Regions from separate parts of the Homo sapiens genome. Here all the other regions are linked to region 1. The links are contacts of gene promoters, found by promoter capture Hi-C in human tissues and cell types (Jung and others, 2019). All regions are on one chromosome and are shown on one strand. The core of a region is centred on a gene start or on the middle of the fragment in contact, and the rest is flanking DNA. Distances in the headings are between cores, read along the strand shown.

The links. Contacts are between HindIII fragments. The study calls those that stand out against the background at their distance.
Region 2: a fragment that was not itself captured here is called in contact with the fragment with the promoter of P2RX7 in region 1 in 2 of the 25 tissues and cell types used here (H1 embryonic stem cells and spleen).
Region 3: a contact is called between a fragment that was not itself captured here and the fragment with the promoter of P2RX7 in region 1, in 1 of the 25 tissues and cell types used here (dorsolateral prefrontal cortex).

The regions. Positions count from the first base shown.
Region 1 is chr12:121,130,813-121,135,318 of GRCh38, reverse strand. P2RX7 (purinergic receptor P2X 7) reads right to left here and starts at 2,443. Exons shown (of 13, transcript NM_002562.6): 1 at 2,224-2,443. The coding sequence starts at 2,348. All of the region lies in intron 2 of LOC105370032 (a long non-coding RNA gene), which reads left to right. The HindIII fragment of the contact is 21,026 bases long and covers 1-4,506 here.
Region 2 is chr12:120,695,582-120,700,087 of GRCh38, reverse strand. MLEC (malectin) reads right to left here. Exons shown (of 5, transcript NM_014730.4): 5 at 1-3,772. The coding sequence ends at 3,543. Among named protein-coding and RNA genes, the nearest start is that of MLEC, 11 kb to the right of the region's middle. The HindIII fragment of the contact is 3,246 bases long and covers 1,112-4,357 here.
Region 3 is chr12:120,824,742-120,829,247 of GRCh38, reverse strand. The region is part of intron 1 of SPPL3 (signal peptide peptidase like 3); the gene reads left to right. Among named protein-coding and RNA genes, the nearest start is that of SPPL3, 77 kb to the left of the region's middle. The HindIII fragment of the contact is 3,442 bases long and covers 73-3,514 here.

The DNA.
Region 1 (4,506 bases), core at 1,194-3,693:
TCACCCAGGCTGGAGTGCAGTGGCTTGATCTTGGCTCACTGCAACCTCCGCCTCCGGGTTCAAGCGATTCTCCTGCCTCAGCCTCCCTAGTAGCTGGGATTACAGGTGTGCACCACCACTCCCCACTAATTTTTGTATTTTTAGTAGAGATGGGGTTTCACCATATTGGCCAGGCTGGTCTCAAACTCCTGACTTCGTGATCCACCCGCCTTGGCCTCCCAAAGTGTTGGGATTACAGGTGTGAGCCACCACTCCCAGACTTAAAAAGATTATTTTTAAAAATAGATACTAGTTATGGAGCTCTTATCCTATGTCAGTCATCATGATAAGGGCTGTTCATGCCTTTTTTTTTTGGTTAATTGCCACAACCCTATGAACAGATGCAGAAACTGAGGCTCAGAGAAGTTAATGACTTGGCCCAGAAGACATAGCCAGTACTATGAAATAAGTTACCCTAACTCTTAGTAAACTACACTGCCACTCTATAGATACAAATTGCCTTCATCATCATTATCAATCAGCACAGAGAATAAGAGGCACTCACCATCAGGGAAATTCAAATCACAACCACAATGAACTACCACTTCACACCCACTAGCATGGCTATAATAAAAAAGACAGACAATCAGCCGGGCGTGGCGGCTCATGCCTGTAATCCCAGCACTTTGGGAGGCCAAGGTGGGCGGATCACTTGAGGTCAGGAGTTTGAGACCAGCCTGGCCTACATGGCGAAACCTCATCTCTACTAAAAATACAAAAATTAGTGAGGAGTGGTGACGCACACCTGTAATCCCAGCTACTCATGAGGCTGAGGCAGGAGAATCGCTTGAACCGGGGAGGTGGAGGTTGCAGTGAGCCAAGATTGCGCCACTGCACTCCAGCCTGGGCAACAGAGCAAGACTTCATCTCAAAGACAAAAACAAAATGACAACAACAAAACCCAAAAAGACAGACGATAACAAGCGTTGGTGAGGATGTGGAGAAATTGGATCCCTCATACTCTGCTGATAGGAATGTAAAAAACTGCAGCTGCTGTGAAATTCAGCTCCACATTCCCCCCAAAGGTGAAACATAGTTAACATATGACCTAGCAATTTTTACTCTTAGGTACATATTCGAGAGAAAGGAGAATATATATCCACATAAAACCTTGTACACAAATGTTCATGTGGCATTATTCATGATAGCCAAAAAAGAGAAACAACCCCAATGTCCATCAATGGATGAATGGATAGAAAAAAGTGGTCTATCCATGCAATGGAGTACTACTCAGCCGTAAAAAGGAATGAAGTATCAGCCGGGTGCAATGGCTCACGCCTGTAATCCTGACACTTTGGGAGGCCGAGGCAGGCAGATCACTTGAGTCCAGGAGTTTGAGACCAGCCTGGACAAAATAGTGAGACCCCGTCTCTTTAAAAAAAAAAATTGAATGAAGTATCAACACATGCTACAACATGGATGAGCATTGAAAACACGCTAAGTGCCACAAAGGACCACATATTATGTGATTCCATTTATATGAAATGTCCAGAATCGGCAAATCCATAGAGGCAGAAAGGAAATTGATGGGTGGGAAGGAGGAGGAACAGTGTTGGAAATGATGGTGAAGGAGTGTGGGATTCCTTTTGAGTCGATTAAAATATTCTAAAATTGATTGTGGGGATGGTTGCACAACTCTGGGAATAATCTGAAAATCATTAAATGGTACCCTTTAAATGGGTCAATTGTATGGTGTATAAATTATATCTCAGTAAGTTTCTTTTAGAAGAAACAAAAACCAAAAAGCAGGGCCTTCCTGACGTTGGTGAGGACCTAAAGTTATAACACATTTTCAAGCCTGGTCCTATTCCTCCCAAGCATGGTGACTCAGATGCCAGCATGATCACCAGGCGTGCCCTGAGATCCTCGCCTCCTCCCTGGGGATCCAGGGTGTTGCCCTGCGCTTTCCTACCTTCCCCAGGCACGCCCTGCCCTGCGCGCCCTGGCGGGCCTGAAGTAGAGCAGAAAGGAATCCCGCTTGTCCTGTGGCTTCTCTCTGCTGCAGCCTGGCACCGTTTCCTCTTGCCTGCTGCTGCTTCCTCCCTCCCGCCCAGCTGGCTGTGAGAGCACGTCTCAGATTCGAAAACCATGTGAGATTCAGAATGTGCACCTGAAGCTGCCCGCTGGGGCTTTCTGTGCTGTCGGCCACTGCAGAGATCTGGGTCCTCCCCAGATCCCACTTACCAAACGTAGGAAAAGATGATCACGTGGAAGAACCACTTAATGGTGCCATAATTCATGCTCTGGATCCGAGTGACTTTGTTCGTCTCATACTGGAAAACATCACTGCAGCTGCAGCAGGCCGGCATGGTGACAGCCTCCCTCCCTGCGCGGAGCTGGACCAGAGCTCTACTCTTCCTGACAGGGCCACAGCAAGCCCCCTCCCAGTAACTGCAAAATGAAACGTACTGGTTTTTAGCAGGAGTCTTTAACTTCAAGCTCCTCCAATGACTGCAGAGTTGGGGCGGGCCCTGGCAGTGGCCCCACATGTGGCTGTGATAAACAAGAAGCGCCAAGTCCTACGGGCCTGGCTGGCAGATGACCTCACCCCAGCTGGCCTCCCCCAGATGCCTACACAAAGATGGTGTTCAGAGGATGGGCATTTTTAGAATTCTCCCTTTTCCCCCCTTTCCTTTCACTTTTTTGGTCTCATGTCTCTTGGGAGAAAGGGGCAGCCTTGCAAATGTCACAAGACTGGGAGCTTCCATTATGCCTCAGAAAAGGACTGAGATCTTTCCATTGCCTGAAGCCCCACTCAGAGATTGATTCATTCATTTCTACAACCCTTTATTCAGCCCCTGATGTATAGGAGCTCTGGGTAAATGAAGATCTCCCCCTCTTCTTCCACCGCCCCTTATAATACTCTGGTCTGCAGTTGGTGGGGGAAATCAGATTTGCAGGGGTAGGGGTGGTGGGGGTGGAGGGGCTTTATTTTTCTGCCAGATCTTTCATGCTTGACCCTCTGAGTTACTCTCCACCCTCCTCTGCACCCCGGCAGGTCGATCTATGACCTAGACCAATCAGCCAAAGATCACCAGGGACACAGTGGCAGTCCAACAAAGTTAGGTTTGTTGACCTATTCAGTGAGGGACACCACCCACCAGAAGAGCTACGCACATCACCAAACAAAGGAAAACAGCAATTTATTATAGGATTCCGAGGAAAGTGGAGTTGAGATAAAATCTAAATGAAGTCATGTTTTGATGGACTCAAAGCAAAACAGGTTTGTACAAAGCAGTCAACTTCAGTCTGGATTGCAAAGAGGACCCAGGGCCCTGTTTCCTAGGAAGCAACATAGCTAAGATACATGTCAAATGTGTCCAGAAAATCTTTATCTGAAGCTCTGCTCCTGAGTTGTAAATTGAGGCTGCTTCTCTGTGTCAAGATGACTTAAATCTTCCAGGCAAAATTGGAATATTTCAGTCTTAGTCATGTAATTTCAAACAGCAAAGTTTCTGAAGGTCTCTGATTTTAAAGGACAATGTTTCAGCAGTCACTCAAAGATGCAGGGTTGTATTATCACTTTACAGCTACAGAGAATTATTGTTCCCTGTTATCTTTACAGCTGGCTTGATCCCTTTCTGTTATTCCAGCCTGCTAAGTGGCCGGGTAGATTTTCAGTTTTTCAGTCTAAACTAATTGTACTTTCTCACACATACAAACTGCATCAGGGTTCCCCTCACCTTCTGGCTTCCAGTTCAGGAGACTGGAGAGCAGTGAGGATGGACGTGACTCCCTGGCCCTGCCCTTCTCAGTTGCATATAGGCAGGGCTTCTGGGCACCACTCCCTCCTTTAGTCCTGGGAGTGGTAAGGGCTCCCCACTCTTACCAGCCCCAGGAAGCTCACTATCTCCTATTGCTTTTTCTTAACTCTGTCCACACCTTTGTAAATGGTTCCATCATTAGTTACCCCACTTGAGTATGCCATTGCTTTCCTGCCGGGAATCTGAGTGATACGGTCATCTTCATCTGTAAAAAGAGGAGATTCACAGGTAAAGCCTGATGCTTAGAACATAGGCTCTAGGGGACTAATGGCCTGGCTTCCGATCCTGGCTTCACATCTTACCAGCTCTGTGACCCTGGACAGCTCTGTTTATGCTATTCATTCACTCATTCCCAAGAGCACCAGGAATAGTAGATATGGCAGTGAACAGGCAGACAAGTCAAATGTCCATCAGCTGATGGATGGATACACAAAAGCACGAAAGCCCATACAAGGGAATATTATTCAGCCATAAAAAGGAATGAAACACTGACCCATGCTCCAACATGGATGAACCTTGAAAACACTACGCTTAAGTGAAAGAGGCCAGACACAAAAGGATACATCTTTTACGACTCCATTTATAGGAAATGTCCAGAATAGGCAAATCACTTCAGTGTTGCTCTTGCTACCACTCAAAGACATCTATTTTCTTGTCTTTCTTTCTTTCTCTTTTCTTTCTTTCTTTTTTTTTTTTTTTTTTT
Region 2 (4,506 bases), core at 1,485-3,984, 440 kb after region 1:
TAGGGAAAGGGATTTTAGCACTAGGAAAAGGAAAATACTGCTGCTGTTTTCTGAAGTTCTCAGCTGAGATTTTAGAAACCATATCCAGGCCTTTCCAGGAGAGGCTAGAGGCAGGAGAAGAAGGAAGAGAAATTCCTTAAAACAGAAGCTTCTCCCAAGAGATAAGGAAGTCAAAACCACAGTTCTAAAGCTGGACCAAACAGTTCCCAGGCACAGAAAGGGGGAGGTAAACCTAACTCAAACTGTGCCCTCTCATCAAAGCCTAAATGCCCGCTAACGTGATCCCAGTAGCTCTTAGGCAGGGAGGGCAAGAGAACACGAACACGCTCTCAAACCAACAGGTGGCCCTGTGGGCAGGGCTAGTCTTCCTGGGAGTCTAACGCCATTGACACCTGAAGAAAACTATCTTCCCAGTCATGAGAACTCGGGGTGTCGATTGAGCAGCCTCTCCTCAACAATGGAGATTTTTCAGAAAAGTGAGTCTGGTTTAAGGGACACAAATCCCACAGAGTTTCTTGGCACAATGTTTCAGTAAGCATGAGTGAGACCCAAAAACGTCCAATGAGAGACCAACAGGCCCCTGACCTAAGTCAGAGCTAGACTGCAGAACTCTCAGCCCAGCTCTGCAGCAGACATCTGCGTCATCCTCCCAGAAATTCAACTCAGGCCACACTTCTGGCAAAAGAAGTTTCACCCTGACTGTCCTTGTTTTCAGTCAGCTGGGCTCAGTGGGATCTAAAAACCTGGGACAGAGTGTAGATCCAGTAGAGGAGCCCAGGCCTCTCCTCCACGCACCCCTCACTGGCACCCCTCACCATCTCCCATACATTCCCTATGGTGCAGCCTCTCAGTCCTAGCACTAAGCTCAAAATACAGATAAGAGAACAAACAGTGCAAAAAGCAAAAGGTGAACAACAGAGTAATTCTTGACACATACAATACAAAAATAAAAATAAAGAATCCCACCCCTTTAACCTAAACTTCATGTACCTATATCTTGGAGGAGCCACAAAACAAAAACAAAAACAAAAAAACTTTCAAGTTCAGCATCATGAGCCAGCTGTGACCAGCCCCAGGGAGCTCTTGTTAGCTGGATAGGCTTGGCTCCAGGGGAGTCTACCCCAGCCCCCACCATACTTCTTCCTGTTTCCTCACTTCCCCTTTAGTTTTTGTTAGCCATAGAAAGATGTTCCTTCCTTTCGTTCACAACCAGAGAGGAAAGCGCCCATCCCTAACCCTGAGCTCAGGGGAAAAGGGTGGGCTTGGAAACAGAGGCAGAAGCAAAGCTGCTTGGCTTACAGTACCATTAGGAAATGGCCCCAGGAGTCAGGGTTTCCTTCTGAGACTCTGAGTCACTGAAGGGATGTGTTGAGGTGGAAGGCGGGACCCCCTCCTTCCTCAGACAGACCCAGGCAAACTAACAAACAAGGCAAAATGGAGGCAGCCAGTCCTCCTCCTTCATCTTGACTAACCCAATGGCAGTGGCCCAGGGCTTTGGGGAATTTCGATGGGATAGGAACCAAAGCTACTGCCAGAAGCCTGTTTAGTTAGGATGTCCACTGCCCCAGGCAGGTGGTCCCCAGGACCAAGGCTACAGTACCTTATCCTTTAGAAGCAGGGGAGCTGTGTGAAGCACTATGGGAAGTATACCTCTGACTGCAGCCTCGGGCCACAACCCTCCAGCTGCCTGACTCAATACCCTAGCACTGAGACCCAAGTCACAGCGAAAACAACAGGCTACAATTCTCAAACGACTAAATGCTGGCCTGGAGTAATCATTAAAGAGCCAAAACCCAGGACATGAGCCCAAGAGCTACCTATTTTGTCACATAAGGAGCAGTTCAAATATACAGAGCTCTTAAAAAACATATCTAATAAAGCAAACTCAAAATTAAACACATTCTAGAAAAGCGGGCCTGGCCTGAGATCCTATATTGACTGCTCCAGCCCAAGCTGAAGCTAATCCTGCTGTCTCCCATCCACAAAATTCCTTCTAGCTTGGCTGGGTCCTCCTTCATTGTTGCCCTAACTGGGAAATGGATGACAATGGCCAGAAAGGAGGGGACCAGGGAAGCTTCATTTCCTATAGAAATTTTTTCAGGGAATTCAAGATCGACACTTAGATGCTAAGGTTAGCTTCAGAGCTGCCAAGGCTCTGGCTGACTGGAATTCTTTCAGTCCCATCACACCAAGAACCTGACTGCTACTTGGATAGAGAAATGAAAGGACAGGGGAAGGAGGGGCATACTATTAAGATCAATAAGAAGCATCGCTGGGCCTATATAGCTAATTAGTCTAGTTCCTTGAAGTAGCTCTAGGCATAAACCAAAACTGGCTGAACTGTGACACACAAGAACATGGGAATAAATGAACATCAGATACCAGACACTCTAAACAGTGGTCAGTCACTTAGTAGGGCTCAAATCTCTGAGGTTGCTCTTAAGCTATGCTAACATAAGCCTTTTCTAATCCAAAGACCAGAAGAGACTTTTAAGGTCAAGTGTTCTGTTGCTGCAGGCTGGAAAGCATCCCTGCCCCCTGGCAGCAAGGCCCTACAAAGGGGCCAGTAAAGAACTGCTGGGTCAGGTCCTCCTGGCTGCTGGCTCAGAGATCCAGGGAGGGAGGTACCAACAAGGTGAGGTGGTAAAGGAGAAGACATTCAAGCAGAGAACCCCAAATCCCCGTGTCTCCTTCCCTTCTTGGCTATAACTTAGTGGGATGGTTGAGAGGGAGAAGAAATTTCAAATGAGCCAGATTAAGGAAACAAACAAACAAACAAAACTGAGAAGAAATCAAGTCCCCAACAGGCACTGAAATCAAAATGATTTGTTGTGGTAACAAGTCAGAGGCGATCTGAGGACCCGACATAACCGAAACGTCTTGGATGCTGGACAGTCTATAACTGGCACATGCCAGGGAGACAAGCAATGACAAAGCTCAAACACTAAAGGTGGGACCATCACTGGATTAATCCAGAAAGGCTTCCAGATAAGGAAGCATTTTCTTTCTTTTTTTTTAATCTCCCTACTTTTTTTTTTAAGTCTTTACCGCACAAATTCTACCCCTTCACACACATTCTTTCAATCCCAGGACGTCTGAAGTCTTATCTAGACATAACTTCAGACCGTACCTAACTCCCAGTGCTGGTCGTCTCAGGTAATAAGATGGCATTTCCCTGCTGTTAATTTCTAACCTAAAAAAAGGAACAGTGACTCCTCTGAGTTCAGAGTCCTTTCCACTAGGTATACAAATGAGGATCCTTGAGCAGGAAGGATCCAGTTTACCCTAAGTATCCTCAAGAGGAAAGAGAAGGCTGGGAGCCAGCCACAAAGAGAGGACGAGGACTGAAGCACGTCTGGGACCAGGTGGTGAATGAGGGCTGCTCTCTACTCGCTCTGCCTCTTTTTGTCTCCTTTAATTGATGTGTGTTTTTTTCTCTTTGTTTTTGTTCATTAATCATTGTGAAAAATACAGAAACCAAAACCAATATGGCTGGTTTCTTTCCCACACCCCTCCACCCTGTTCAGGATAGTCATTTGTTCTCACAACCGGCAGAGGCAGAAGAGGGTTGGAATGAAGACTCCGAAGGCCACCAGGATGGGAAACATGAGGCTGCTGTTGTCCGAGGCATAGGGGTTGGGTGTGCGGGGGCCTGACTGCACCCGGTTCTTATTGGTCTGTTTTTTGAGATTAGACCCTTCATCATATTCTTCTTCTTCTTCTTCCTCTTCTTTCTTCTCCAATCCCGGATGAGGCTGAAGCTTTGGTACATCTAACACAAGGAAGAAAACACTGTTAAGACCCACAGCATTTAAGTAAGAGAGACCCTTAAAAGCAGCAAATAAGCCACAATAAAGAGATTGCTGTGATTGAACCCGGGTCCAGAGAAAAGACCAGAAGTAGCAGAAATAGCCTCTGGTCTACAGAACAGCAGAGTGCTGCAAAAGCTTTAGATTTAACTAGAAAGTAGAAAAAGCCGTGCTCATAGGGAGGTTCACTATCTTACCTTCCTGTTCTACTTTTACAGAGCCCCAAGATAACCAGACTGGACAGGGACAATGATCCAATGCCTAAACTTTAGCCTTTTCAAATCCCTCCTCCTCCCACAAGCCCACATTCCCTTTTGATTCACACAACAACTGAAGAAACGTTGACCCAGAGAGTTCTGGGTTCCCAGCACACACTATCCCTCTGTCCTGCCTCCTCCTCAGGGACTTGAACACAGGTCTGTTTGGTGGTAAGACATTCATCCTCCTAGATGTCATAATATCAGCATTTGGGGGACATCAAGACAACAGGATGAAATCCTCAGTGCATTCAAGATTGAGTTGGGGAAAGGTACAGAGGTGGAATGGGGGAGAAATGTCACAAAGACGCAGCTTTCTCTGCAAAAATCAGCCTGAGATGCTGGCAGCCAGGAGAATCTAAACCCTGAGAAAGAAATATACTCTAAGACTTGATCCCAAGGATAAGGAGACATAAATAAGTGAAGTTTTGTCCCAGTGC
Region 3 (4,506 bases), core at 544-3,043, 310 kb after region 1:
TTAAGAAATTTTTAACCTAACCCAATGTCACAAAGATTTTTCTGTTTTCTTCTAGAAGCTTTATGGATTTCAGTTTCACATTTAAGCTTATGATCTGTTTTTGCATACAGTGTGAGGCTTTTTGTTTGTTTTGCATATTTACATCCAGTTGTTCAAACACTGTTTGTTGAAAAGACTATTCCTAGTCTGGGCCCAATAACTCATGCCTCTAATCCCAGAACTTTGGAAGGCTTGAGGCAGGAGGATCACTTGAGCCCAGGAGCTCATGACCAGCCTGGGCAACATAGAGAGACCCCCATCTCTACAAGAAATAAAAATAAAAAACTTAGCCGGAAGTGGTAGCACACACCTGTAGTCCCAGCAACTCGGGAGGCTGAGGCAGAGGATCTCTTGAGCCCAGGAGTTCGAAGCTGTAGTGAGCTGTGATCACGCCACTGCACCCCAGCCTAGGCAACAGAGCAAGACTCCATCTCTAACACAAACAAAAAAGACTTTCTTTCCTCTTGGAACTTTTGTTAGAAATTCATTGGTTATAAATTTGTGAATTTCTGGAATCTATGTTCCATTGAACAGTACGTGTATTCCTCACCAATTCACACTATAAATACTGTAGTTTTATAGTAAGTGTTTAAATCAGTTAATGTGAATCCTCCAACTTTTTTTCCCCAAGATTGTTTTAGCTATTCTACTTCCTTTGCTTTCATACAAATTTTGGAACTAGCCGATGGATTTCTGCAGAAAGGAATTTTGTAGTTTTCAGTCTCATTGATTTCTGCTCTGTATTACTTCCTTCCTTCTATTTGATTTGAGTTTAATTTGCTCTTTTTTTTCTAGTTTTTTTTAAGGCAAAAACTTTGATTTTTGAACCTTTTTTTATTTTCCAGTATAATCACTTAATGCTGTAGATTTGCCTGTATAAACATTGCTTTAGCTGCCTTCCACATATTTTGATATGTTTTGTTTTCATCCTCATTCAGTTCAAGATATTTTCTAATTTTCCATGTGATCTCTTATTTGACCCATGGGTTATTTAGGAGTGTGTTTAATTTCCACATATTTGGGGATTTTCACAGATTTTCCTTTGGGTGATTTCTAATTTAAATTGTAGTTGGAGAGCATATTTCGTATAATATCAGTTCTTTTAAATTATTTGAGACTTAGGCCAGACGTGGTGGCTCATGCCTGTAATCCCAACACTTTGGGAGGCTGAGGCAGGCAGATCACCTGAGGTCAGGAGTTGGAGACCAGCCTGGCCAACATGGCAAAACCCCATCTCTACTAAAAATACAAAAATTAGCTAGGTGTGGTGGTGTGCACCTGTAGTCCCAGCTCCTCGGGAGGCTGAGGCAGGAGAATCACTTGAACCTGGGAGGCGGAGGATGCAGTGAGCCAAGATGGCACCACTGCACTCCAGCCTGGGCAACAGAGTGAGACTTGTCTCAAAAAAAAAAAAATTATTTGAGACTTGTTTTTATGGGCCAGTCTGGAAAATGGTCCATGTGTGGTGTTTACCATTAGCTCTTGGAGGGTGCGTTTTGATTCATGATACAACTTAATGATCCCAGCTGAGGCTGGGGGGCACAAGCCAGGTTGAGCTAGGGAGTGTTGTAAAATGGTTTAAAGCATGACCTCTGGATCTAGAACCAGGCTGCCTGGATGGGAATGCTAGTTCTTCTTCCTTGAAGCTGTGCAGCTGTTTGACCTTGGACAAACTAGTTCATCTCTCTGCTTCAGTATCCTCATCTCTAAAGCTGATAGTGGAAGTATGTTCCTCAGGGAGAAGTTGAAAAGATGAAATGAGGAAAATGTAAACAGCTTGTATGAAGTCTAGCAACTCAGTAAGAGCCCCCAAAGTATTATTATTATTATTGTTATTATTATTATATTATTATATTATTATTATTATTATTATTATTATTGTTCCTGTTATTATAGCAGCAGTTATATTTCTTGGTCTCATAGGCCTTTCAAATAAGTTTTGTCTGGCTTCTTGGATAGTTTTTAAAGAACTACTTCCCTGTTAAGGGTATTTCTCATGTTTATTATATAAAGAAGTTCAGATAACTTTTGTTTGGCTGTTTGTGGCCCCCCTATATAGAGGAAAACATAGTTTGGAAAAATCTTTAAAACCCACACTTTCAAAATACTGTGATTTAAACTCTAACCAAGAATTTGACTCCTGCTAAGTCAAGTTTCCTCTGAAAACATTCTCGGGGTTGGTAGAAATCACCAACTGGAGAACAGAGTCCAGCACCCTTTACAGCTACCAAATAAAAATAACCTCTTCCAGTATATGACTTTTAAATTTTGACACTCATTTTATGAATGTCTCAATTTTGTCAGGATTAATTAGAAAATTCATAAATAAAATCACCCAGGGCATCTCATTGTTATTTTAGTTTCAAACAGTAGATTGTATTGGTGTTTTCTCCCCTCCTGGAGTCCTGGACAGCAGGACTCCAGGTATAAACTTAGGTGAAAACTCCAAGACATTATTTAATGTGAATCTTTTTAGAGAAGCTAAAGATCAAAGACCTTAGTCATTGATCCTTTGTATATACTTCTGAAAAACGAGGGTATTAAATATTCTTCTTATTGCTAAGGCCAGAGACAGCTGAGTGTCTGCTTTATGGAGCGATTTTGCAGAGACTCTTATCACTTACTAGGCTGTGTAACACTGAACAGGTTTCCCCTGGCACTGTTTGGTGGTGCTGTTTGGGCTTGCTGTTAGGTAAGCTTTAGGCCAGGTGGAGGTGATCCGTGTCAAGGGTTCTGCCTTAAGTTGTGACCTCTAACTGTCTCTGCCACATACATGAGTGCCTAAATTGGGATTTCGATGCCCAGTCAGGTATCCAGCACTGTTAGAGGGCAAGGCAGGTAGGTCTAGGTTTGAGTTTGTCATAACCCATGGAAATTTTGACTCTTGCCCTGCTTTCTTTTTTTTTTTTTTTTTTTGGAGACAGTTTCAATCTTGTTGCCCAGGCTGGAGTGCAATGGTGCAATCTCAGCTCACCGCCACCTCTGCCTCCCAGGTTCAAGCGATTCTCCTTCCTCAGCCTCCTGAGTAGCGGGGATTACAGACATGTGCCACCATGCCCGGCTAATTTTGTATTTTTAGTAGAGACAGGGTTTCTCCATGTTGGTCAGGCTGGTCTCGAACTCCCAACCTCAGGTAATCCTCCTGTCTCAGCCTCCCAAAGTGCTGGGATTACAGGCGTGAGCCACTGCGCCCGTCCTAACTCTTGCCCTGCTTTCATTCTCTTGACCAGTGAGTGTGTCACCAGAGATAGACACCCTGGACAAAGAGAGGTCCCATTAGTTCTTCTTTCAAAATATAGTTTGTGACTATAGCACCTCCTCTTTCCACTTCGTACTAACCTAGACTTGATCACCTCATGCTTAGATTATCATAAGAATCTTACTTGGTCTCCTTGATTCTAGTCTCTTCTGCCCAATTTATCTACACTGAATATTTCTGCCTGACTGATTTTCCAAAAATATTATAGACTCTTATGATTTTTACTCTACTAGTTGAATAAAAGCAATGTTTTCAGGTGACGTTAAAACTCCAGCAGCTAAAATCCTGCTAACAAACCTTGACTTCAAGTACACCATAATTTAACCCCTCTGTAAACAGAAGCTGATCTTGCAGTGAGTCTCTCTGGAATTCCATTCTTCCGTAAGACAAGCGATATTTGCTCCTGTTGATATTCCTGTGTACATGTGCCCTGTTACTAGAGAGTTAAGATCATGACCTTTATTCTTTTGGGATTTGTTTTCTCACCTCCACTCTCTTTTCTCTCTACCAAGCCAAACTCCTTTCAGGTGCTCAATAAACAGATGCTCTTTAGTGTTTCCTAACTCACAGAAAAATTTTTCTCTGAATACATCAGGTCTGTTTGATAACAAATTCAGTTAACTGAATTGGGGCTGCTTTTGCCATAATTTCCTTTTTAGTGTGTCAGGCTTGTTTTTTCAAACTAAATAATTGGCTGGATTATATAGTTTTTCAATTATTAATTTAGTAAAACTTTATTATTTTGGATTTAATGAATTAAAATTTGTGAACATTGTTCTGGATCAAACTGACATTATGTAAGTTTGGATCTGTCCTTTTTTTTTAAATGAGTTTAAGGTGTTAGTAATTAAGATTCCATTTGTGTTATAAATATAATGACTATCCAGTAGACTTAAGGTAGTGTCATATAAGGAAGGGCACACTATGAGAAAGGGACTGGGGGTGGGGGGCATGTTTACCCTTTAACATTTGTTCCATTCCATCTGCAGTTAAGCTTTCTAGAAATATGTTGTTACAGTAGCTACTTAAGTGTTTTTAAATTGTCTTTTCAAATGAATAGGGCATGGAAGTTTGTTACTCTTTTCTGTGTGAAAAACAGTGTCAAAAGTTTAAGAAGGCCAGGCAGCTTCACGCTTGTAATCCCAGCAAGTTGGGAGGCCAATGCTGAAGGATCACTTGAGTCTAGGAGTTCAAGACCAGCTTGGGTA